Regions from separate parts of the Homo sapiens genome. Here regions 1 and 2 are each linked to region 3. The links are contacts of gene promoters, found by promoter capture Hi-C in blood cells and fetal thymus (Javierre and others, 2016). All regions are on one chromosome and are shown on one strand. The core of a region is centred on a gene start or on the middle of the fragment in contact, and the rest is flanking DNA. Distances in the headings are between cores, read along the strand shown. Region 1 holds the start of LOC105375875 (a long non-coding RNA gene). Region 2 has its middle 200 kb from the start of YTHDF3. Region 3 holds the start of LINC01414 (long intergenic non-protein coding RNA 1414).

The links. The method cuts DNA at HindIII sites, captures the fragments that hold promoters and counts their contacts. A CHiCAGO score of 5 or more calls a contact.
Region 1: a contact is called between a fragment that was not itself captured here and the fragment with the promoter of LINC01414 in region 3, in 4 of 17 cell types (M1 macrophages, M2 macrophages, endothelial precursors and 1 more). The highest score is 10.5, in M1 macrophages.
Region 2: a fragment that was not itself captured here is called in contact with the fragment with the promoter of LINC01414 in region 3 in 4 of 17 cell types (endothelial precursors, M2 macrophages, M0 macrophages and 1 more); the score reaches 7.1 in endothelial precursors.

The regions. Positions count from the first base shown.
Region 1 is chr8:63,415,784-63,419,118 of GRCh38, reverse strand. LOC105375875 (a long non-coding RNA gene) reads left to right here and starts at 1,197. Exons shown (of 4, transcript NR_188107.1): 1 at 1,197-1,679. The HindIII fragment of the contact is 2,415 bases long and covers 195-2,609 here.
Region 2 is chr8:63,371,327-63,374,595 of GRCh38, reverse strand. No RefSeq gene overlaps it. Among named protein-coding and RNA genes, the nearest start is that of YTHDF3, 200 kb to the right of the region's middle. The HindIII fragment of the contact is 844 bases long and covers 1,435-2,278 here.
Region 3 is chr8:64,366,814-64,369,924 of GRCh38, reverse strand. It overlaps LINC01414 (long intergenic non-protein coding RNA 1414), which reads left to right and starts at 1,367. Exons shown (of 5, transcript NR_125826.1): 1 at 1,367-1,584. RefSeq lists an enhancer at 663-1,164. The HindIII fragment of the contact is 6,543 bases long and covers 1-3,111 here.

The DNA.
Region 1 (3,335 bases), core at 153-2,652, 950 kb after region 3:
AAATTTAAATGAAAGAGAAAATTCTCCCATTGCTCTTTGTGGCTCTAAGCAACTAATTCTGACAGGACAAACTGCATTATGTGGGTGAGGCAGAATTTTTAAATAAAAATGTTTTCATTGTTTTTAGTTCTTCTCCCCCTTTTTTTTCATTTTGAGACATGCTTTATGAGATGAGTAACAGCACTGTACAAGCTTCTCACAGATGTCAATGATCCAAAATAATATTTTTTTAGTGTAATCTCTATGCTTAGCTTCCTCATATTACTGCAAAAGATACCCCTCCACTCCAAAACGTCTAGTTTAATGACGGCTTCCAGAACACAGGGTGATTAGTAGAGTTTTGTTTTGGTTATTTATATGCTTGTTTTAAACAATGTTAAACAAAAAAAGATCTCTTCTGTTAGTATTGAGTCCCATTACAAATATTTCTTTCAATCCTATGATACAGCAATAGGGGTGGCCGTTCTAAAATGAGAATGTTGCTGATATCCAGATACAGAACTGTTTCCAGAAAGGAGAGTCCCCCTGGTGGCCAATTTTTTCCTAAGAAAATTCCTGGTAACAACTACATGACAGGGAAGTTAGAAGCTCAAATAAACCAAGCCTAAGGTGGCCAGTGCATAACACCTTAGCCGTGCAAGTCATCTGTTCTCAAGGAATATATGGCCAAAGCACAGCAGGAAAGAACAACAGAAAATAGGAATATGCAGAGAACAGACATAACGTAAATATAACTTAAATTGCAATTAATGAATAGCAGGGAAAACATCAAAATCAACAGTGTGGTGCAAGATAAGGAATGTAACCATAGGAAATAGAAAAGTTGCAAGAGGTAAATGGCAAAAAGGAAAAAATTAAATAGAGTGCAAAAATACCTGTGTCAATAAAGCCATAGTTGCCACTGGTATTTCAAGCCTAAGATGGAAAAAATAACACAAAGGTGGGCTTCCTGGGCCCTTAATGGCTCAGGATGGTAGGAAATAGACTAAGTGAAGACAGGTAGTTCCAATGAGAGAGGGGCAGGAACACAGCAGTCCAAACTAGAAGATCCAAAGAGGTATGGTACACATTGGCTTGGTATAGAAGAACTCCAATGGCCATAGAAATTCAGTCTCTGAGGTAGGACAAAGCAATAGAATGTTGCAAGCAGAAGTGAGGCCATGTGTCTAAGAACTCAGTTCACTCCTTGCATGACACCAAGCAGCAAGTGTAATTGAAGGGAAATGCTCTATCCAGATACCAAGAGGACTAGTCACGAGACCAGGCCTCAAAACAGGAAAATGGTTCCAATGGAGAAGTAGAGTATGAGTCAAGAATTGAGAGATGAGCAATATACATTAGCATTATAAAACACTAAAGAAAGTATACATGCCTAGAGCCTCTGAGGCACACTACAAAGAAGATGACCTGAAAAGTGACTGCTTACAGGGTCCACATATAGGTGACATGAAAGTTCCCTCAGCCTTGTCAGTATGAATGAGCCTGTAAAGTGAAGATGAATGAGAAAGGGATTAGATGAGTCATCTGAGTCTGTAAGGCCCTTGCAACAAGAGCATGAAGATGATAAAAGAGGACAGAAAGGGAACAAGTTGGGTGAAAAGAAAACAATGAATTAGGGTGAAAAGATCAAGCCAGTGACCAAACTCTCTACAACTAGAAAAGACTTATCAGTTTCTCATGTAAGTCTATTATCTTTACTCCAACTCATCTTTTCCATATTATTTAATTAATATACATAGGAAAACTGTTTGGTAAAATCAGAAAGTACTTATTCATAGGTAATTAGTCTTTTGGTAAGCAAATTACTACTTGTTTAACGTTCCAGTTAAGAAGCCAAATAAGATATCATTTACATCAAAAATGAAAAAATAAGGGGGCATCTACTTTCTATAATAACGACCTGGGAAACTCAGACCATCCTTCCTTCTGAGGACGCTGAAAAAAACTGAATCCAAGAACTAACAACATATTAAGGAACTGCCAGGTGGTGACCCAGCATGCTAAGAACACAGCAAGGTGAGAAATGCACTCAAGGCCACTTTTGCTGATTAAAAAGGGGAGCCTAAGGGATTCTGATGGATTTTTGGTAAACTTCTAGGACTAAAGGTGAAAAGTCAAGGTCTTGATCTGCCAGGATAGTAACCTTGGTAAATAACCTCCCAACCTACTTTGAGCCAAGGCTCCTAAAAGCTGTATCCATCCCAGTAGTAAATGTTAACAGATTAAAACTAGCATTGAAAGAGTTTTAGAATGTCTTCTTTCATCTGGATAGCCCAGGATATTTCAATCCTTAAACATGGATTAAAGTTATCTTGAAAGGCCAGCACATCCACGCACCTGGGAGGCAAATACAAATCACCTAAGGAGGAAGATACCCTCATTCTTGTCCTCAAATTAGCTCTACAAATAGTTCTTTAAACACAATATCCAGCTCAGAAAGGCAACCATACAGACAACACAAATACAAAGATGGAAGATAAACTAAAACATACCCACAGAAACAAGGGAAAACAGAAAGACCAACAAGAACTTGAGATATTAGAAATAACAGTTATATACTATAAAATAACTAGGTTTTCTGTGGTTAAAAAAAAAGTAAAAGACAAGCTTTAGTGACAGAGTATTTTTAACAGTAGATGAATGTAACAGTAGACTAGATACAGGTGAAAAGAGAATTAGTACCTTTGAAGGTACATGAGAAAAAAAATCCACAATTTAATATAGAGACAAAAGAATAAAAACTAGAGAAAAGATGGTAAGACATATTGAATATATTAAAAGCTTTATAATAAATGTTTAAATGAAGTCTGTGATGGTTAGTTGTATGTGTCAACCTGGCTAGGCTATAGTACCCAGTTACTCAAACAAACACTAATCTACATGTTGTTGGGAAGGTATTTTGTAGTTGTGGGTAACATCTACAATCAGTTGCCTTTGAGTAAAGGAGGTTATTGTCAATAATGTGGGGGATCTCATCTAAACAGTTGAAAGGCCCTAAAAGCAAAACTGAGGTTTCCCTAAGGAAGAAAAAATTCTGCCTCAAGATTGTAGCATCAACTCCTACCTCAGAATTTCCAGCCTGCTGCCCTGCCTTAAAGTTTTCAGACTTGCCAGTTCCCACAATTGCATGAGCAAATTCCTGGAAATAAATTTCTCTCTCTCTCTTTCTCTGCATAAATATAGTATACATATATAATACTAATATTGTTAATTAATATTGATTGTATAAAACAATAATGTTAGTGGGATTTAAAATACATTTTGAGAGGGAATGAAATTTACCAAATAAATGACAAAAGTTACACACGTGAAAAATGATGAAAGTTACACAAGTG
Region 2 (3,269 bases), core at 607-3,106, 1.0 Mb after region 3:
TACTGTCAAGAACTCTGAGAGCCTGGACTTTGTTGAGTTTAGGAAGATTTAGAAAAATTAATGTGGTATAGTTAGAATGCGGAATGGTTTGACAGCAGGAAGGAATAATGTGGTATAGTTAGAATGTGCAGAATGGCTTGAGAGCAGGAAGGAATCTAGTGTGAAAACTCAAGTTGAGATAATTAGTGCCAGAGCAAGGAATTGAAGGTAAGAGAAAAGCCAATGAGAATAATCTATGAGGTCAAATTGCTAATGTTTGCAACTGACTGAATATAAGGGATCAGTGGAGAGGAGGCAAAAATGACTTTTCATCATTAGACAGTCAACCTTTGGCCAGCAGATGAGAAATCCCTTCCTTGTGACTCATGCATTACCAGAAGTCTCTGATTTCCTGGAATTTTTGATAAAATTTCTGAATCTCTTAATGATAAATTTTAAAACCACAATTTTTAATATTTTGCTTATGTAGTAGTATCTCTATGACAGTTTTTGGAGCAGACATTCTTTTCCAATTCCTGATATGATCAGTCCCAGTGTTACCACATTTGACTAATAATTGGTCTCTGAGATATCTATTACCTGAATACAATTTGTTGCCAATCTTTTTGTGCTAGATTTGCAGTGAATGAATGGCTGGATTCATGGTGTTCTTTTAAATAGGAAAAATTCTTGGTGAACTCATAAAAGGTAAGATGGGCCATCCCACCATACTGATCACAAGTTTCCAGGATTCAATCTGTGTGCACACTGTTCACTGCAGCTACTGGGAGTAGATTCCAATGCATGGCAATTGAGGGACTACGTAGCTAATTCACATAACCTAAAGCCACATCTCTGGGTCAGATTTCTCTCTTTAACTCTTCTCTTCAAAATCCAAATATGTATTTAGAAATCTTCATCTAGATGTCCCATGGGCACCTCAAATTCAACATAGTCAGAACAGAGTTCATTATCCTTCACTGAAAACCTACTTCTTTTCCTGTATCTCTTGACACCTGTGTCTCAGAGTCATGCTGTTCCCTTTCTTCCTCTCCTTTTCTATGTTTAGTCCATCAGGAAGCCACTGCTTGGCAAATTTTATGACAGGACCCTCCTCTTCAGTTTAATTTTCTGTTTTTGTGATTTGCTTCAGTCCTATTTTGTCATTGTGGATGATGTCTGCAATCATCACTTGCCTAGGGTTTCTGCAATAGCTACAAACAAGCCTCATGCCCTCCAGACTCGGCCTGCTCCAATCTACTTGCTGCATTACAACTAGAGTTATTTCTCTAAAATGGAAATTTGAAAATTTGTTATCTTACTTGAAACTCATCAATGGTCTCTAATTTCAAAATAAAGTCTAAACTCTTAAATCTAGTCCTCTGCAACAGCATGTATTATGTTACACAATGACTGGTTACTCTTTTATCTAAATCTTCCAACATAATGAAAGCTTCTAAATGTTTTTGGAATGAACAAATGAATAGCATATTGTATACTTTTATGACATTGAATTCTCACAGAAGAACATCATCAAATAAATACAGTTTATATTCTGCAAAGGAAAAGAATAAGACTCAGAAAGGATATTTAACTTGTTCAAGTAACAGAGAGTAGCTGACAGAAACTGGATTGAAGAGCAAATCTATCTAATCCCAAAGCACTACAGCTCAATGCCCTTTCACATGGCCCTAGGTCTGTATTCGTTGTTTTCTGATTTTGTAGCAGGCAGGCCTAGATGAGCCTATGATATACCTCTCATTGCTATTGTGTATGTGTATATGTATGTGTGTCATTAGATTATAAGCTATTCAAAAGCCATAATCACCTTCACAGCCTCAGTACCTAGAATAACACCTTTTAGATATGCCTTTGGTATGTTCTCAACGATTATTTATTGAATTAAATAAAATAGTGCAATGGGGAAAATGATTTTGTTATTTAAGAAATAATGAAACTTAAACTAGTCATAAACATAAAGAAATTTTGAAGTACCATTTAAGTAGCACTGTGTATGAGATGTATAGTAGTATATAAAGAAAAAATATTTGCTATATGCATGTACCATTTGTAGCTTATGAATTTTAGCTACTAAAGGAGACAATATATGTCTAAAAGTTTGGTATTAGTAATAGCTCAGTGTTCACAGGGCAAAATTTTCCCATTAGATTATTAATAGGATTTCATTTTGCTTTAGATTCAGATCATCCTTGGCCAATGTTATTATTAGTCTTTCATCTTGAAGTCTCTATATAGAAAAATTTGTCTGGAATCATAACTCCTACCAATAATGAAAGCTTCCAGGGTGGGGGAAGTCAGTAAGTTCTTAGAGAAGTGATCTCCTAGGAACCCTCTGGTTTTTGCAGAGGTGATCTTAACTCTGTATTGATCAGCTCTAACTATTGAAATGAGTTCTAGAAGTCACACTTCCATGATAAAATTTGAAAGAGTAAGAGAACAAGATGGAGTTGTCCTTGTGAAAACAAAATCACTGAAAAAAGGTTGGGAAAATTGGAAGCGTGTAGCCTAGTGAGATGCTTCAGGAGAGGGTCATTTCTGTATTCAAATATTTGTATGGTGTTTGTAAGACACACATATAAAATTGCTTACTGCATGCCCTTTTTCTAGAAATTGCTCTTCTTTGTCCCCTTCTCCCACATGGTTGCAGCAGGAATGTCCATGTTCCCACATGACAGAGCCCACAAGCACAATAGATTTGTTCAGCAGTGGAACGTGTTCCAACCAGAGCAATCATTGTCTTTTCCAGGAATTATGGGACAAAGAATAAAGGGAGGAGGGGGGTGGAAGTCCTCTGGATGGCAGAATCTGAAACATGTAAAACTTGGGGGCTGGCCGGGCGCGGTGGCTCACGCCTGTAATCCCAGCACTTTGGGAGGCCAAGGCAGGCAGATCACGACATCAGGAGATCGAGACCGTCCTGGCTAACACTGTGAAACCCCATCTCTACTAAAAATACAAAAAATTAGCCAGGCGTGGTGGTGGGCGCCTGTAGTCCCAGCTACTCGGGAGGCTGAGGCAGGAGAATGGCATGAAGCCGGGAGGCAGAGCTTGCAGTGAGCCAAGATTGCACCACTGCACTCCAGCCTAGGCGACACAGCAAGACTCCGTCTCAAAAAAACAACTTGGGGGCTATTGGTGACCATGCTTTCTGCCACATGAACTCAAGAAGAAAGGAAATGAGGAGTGAGGCAGAGAGTCGGGGAGCGGAGAGAAACATAAGCCAGGTTAAATCACCAATGAGAAACATAGAGAGAATCTTGATATTTTTG
Region 3 (3,111 bases), core at 118-2,617:
CCCGAGGCAGCTGTTTCCTCAGAAGCTGTGGGTCCGCTCGGGTGGTCCCGGGGCGAGGTCCCTGAAGAGGCGAGGCGGCTGGAGCGGCCCAGGCCCAAGCAGGCCTGGTCGTCTCCCTGCGACCTCGCCTCGCCCCGCTGCCCCCACCGGCACCCCCTGCCCCAAGCCCGTCCTGCGGAAGTCGGCTCCTCTGGCCGAGGCAGAAACTAGAAAGCCTGCCCCGGGCCAGGTGCAGGAAAGCAAAGCAGAAGTAAGTCTCGGGCCGCAGATGCGGCCCTGGCGGGCAGGGCCTCGGCGCCCATTCCCGCCGCGACCTCGCCCGGCTGCGTACGCCAAGGAGCGCAGGATAGAGGCGCTGGTGTCTGCGGGGCCGCCCCGGGCTCGGAGAGCGGAGGAGCAGGGAAAGGCTCGGGGAAGGAATGTTAAAGGGGGACACTGGCAGCGACGGCGCGCTCCGCCCGCCCGCGGACTAGCCGGACCCGCCACTTCCCAGCCGGCCGCGAGGAGCTGCGGGCCGGGCCGGCAGCCCCTCGGCCGCGAAGCCCGCGCCACCCCGGTAACCCCGGCGAGGAAACGCGCTCTTTCCTTTTTCTTCTCCCCTCCCCCCTCCCCTTTCTCCCTAGAGGCAGCTCCCGTCCTCTAAATGCATTACACACACACACACACACACACACACACACACACACACACACACACACGGGAAATCTCTGGGGCTCTCCTTTTTCCACCGGTCTCGCCTCCTCCTAACACTGGTGTTGGTCGAACAAGCGCGAAACTCACAGAAGTTTCCCCGAAAACGAACAGCTTTAAATGCCAGGAGGGAAAATGTCGGGGGAAAAAGTGGAGGTCGGTGTTTCCCTAAATGCAAAACATCAGAGAGGAATCTGAAAAGAGCTTTACTTTCCCTGCGAAATCTCCATTGTTGCTCAGCAAACAATGGGAGCCTGGGCGACTGGAGGGCTGTGCGAATGAATAGGCGATCCGCGGGATGTGTGCGGGTCAGTGCCTGGGGTCCCGGGCCTAAAGCCCCTTTCTCAGCTTGCCACAATAAACCAGCGCAAGGTTTAGTCCTTACTGGGTCACCGGCCATCCTCTATTATTCAACACTTCACAACAAAAAACACTTATTAATCAGCGCTGACCAGAGGCCCCTTTTGAAACAAGAGAAGAGGGGAGAGAGAGAGGGAGTGAGAGAGAGAGGGGTGAAAAGAAGATTGAGAAGCCCTGGACAGATCTTTCTAAAGCCAGAGCAACCATGGGGTACTTTCCTCCAGTGGCCAAAGTTTATTTGACACAACAAAGTTTCTAATCAGGCCACGGAGACCTGGATTTCTCCTCATTTGCCTCACTCCCGGTCTCTTCCTCTGAAGATGCTGGAGACTTTGTTGCAAGAAAGGATGGCTTTAGGTCATGTTGCTGAGGCCTGATCTTAAAGATCTAATTGCTATTGGAAGAGAATCCTGTTTCCCAACTGGGCCTCCCCTCTGGAGATGGAGCAAGGAAGACTGTCCAACTCTGCTCTGGGCACCCTGCTGATGGATGAGGTGTCAGGCCAGTCGTCATGTGAGGACTGGTTTCCAAATGGTATGAGCAGTAGTCAAATGCGGTACTTATTGGTGATACTGAATGCAATCTGTAGATTTTCTACTTCATGTTGTTTCAGGCCAGATATATGAAAAAACTAAACTTGCTTGCTAGAGTGAAGAGAAATTGATTATTCCTATGCTCAGACAAGGATTGAGGGGAAAGGATATGATGAGTTTACTTTGAGAGAAGAAATTGATTAAAAATGTTCCATACCACTAAAGTCAGTGGGTTCTTTGCTCAACTTTGATAATTTTTACAGAGCTTATTTGATGTTTGTAACCTAATTTTGTGTCTTTTATTTATCTGGTTACATGATAATTATGAACACATGCTCAGACATATATGGACCCTACTATACATCAAAGTGAAGTGCTACCTACGTCAGTTTTATGGATGAGTTTAATCCATTTAGAACTCAGCTAGACATTTTTGATGGCAAAATTTTGTTGCTTTTTGATTTGGGGTTGGAAGCCAATATTTCTTGGTTATTCTGTCTGTTTCACATTACTCAGGTTGTAATTTAGCCAAGTGAGCAAAGCTCTTTTGTAATGGCTGATGTTTACAAGTAACGGAGGCAGCAGTTATTGAATCTTGGTTGTCAAAAGATATAAAACAATGATTTTCCTAAAGAAATAGAAATGAATGTCAAAACAGTATTCTTTTAAGTTTAAATTTTCGTTTGTGTACACTTTTGAGTTTCTGAGTAACATAACTAACCATTTTACTTGTTATGATTCAAAGAAGCCTTTAAAACCAGAACAAGTATGGATGGGGGATTCTGAGTTGAGCAAATTAAGCTGTAGAACTAGAGGGCTTGGTAATGAAAGCAAGAATGCAGAATTACTTGGTAGCAAACTACACTGATATTTACCAGAGTTTATGTAGTAAATGCAAAAATGAGTTGCATACTTTGGTCTGATGCCTACTATTTAAGATTGGCCTTTTTTTAATGTGGAAAATATTGTGTTACTCAGATTTTGCAGAGCTCAAGGGTTCTTGCAATGGAGTAATCAAGTGTTATCTGAATTATTTAAAGCCTGGGATTAAAGGCCTTGGAGTTGACTGCTGACAAACTCTCAAATGTAGGCAGGGGAAAGTTTAGTATTCTTGTCTATCTGTTTATACTTTGAAAATAATTTGGCCAATTGTGGTAAATTATTTTTAAAGTTTATGCATAAGAACAATGAATATTTCTTCTATGAATTGTTTCCCAAATGAGCAAGTAAGATTATTCAGAAAACAAGTAGTTATCTGTTTACTACATACCAGTGTGTCACCTAACATGCACTGTTTTCACAAGATTATGCTTTAAAAAACATATTTGCTATGGAGAGCTCTACTGTTTCAGAAAAGCATTTAGAGTGTGGATACACACAATGTATTCATTCAACAAATTCATTTGGGGGACATGACAATTTTATGTCATGTTTTTCCTTTTGCTATTTTGGTTGACTTCCTAATTTGCTTAAAGGAGGCAATATTCCATTTGTATATACATGTTTATTTGTAAACTAAAGGTACCTA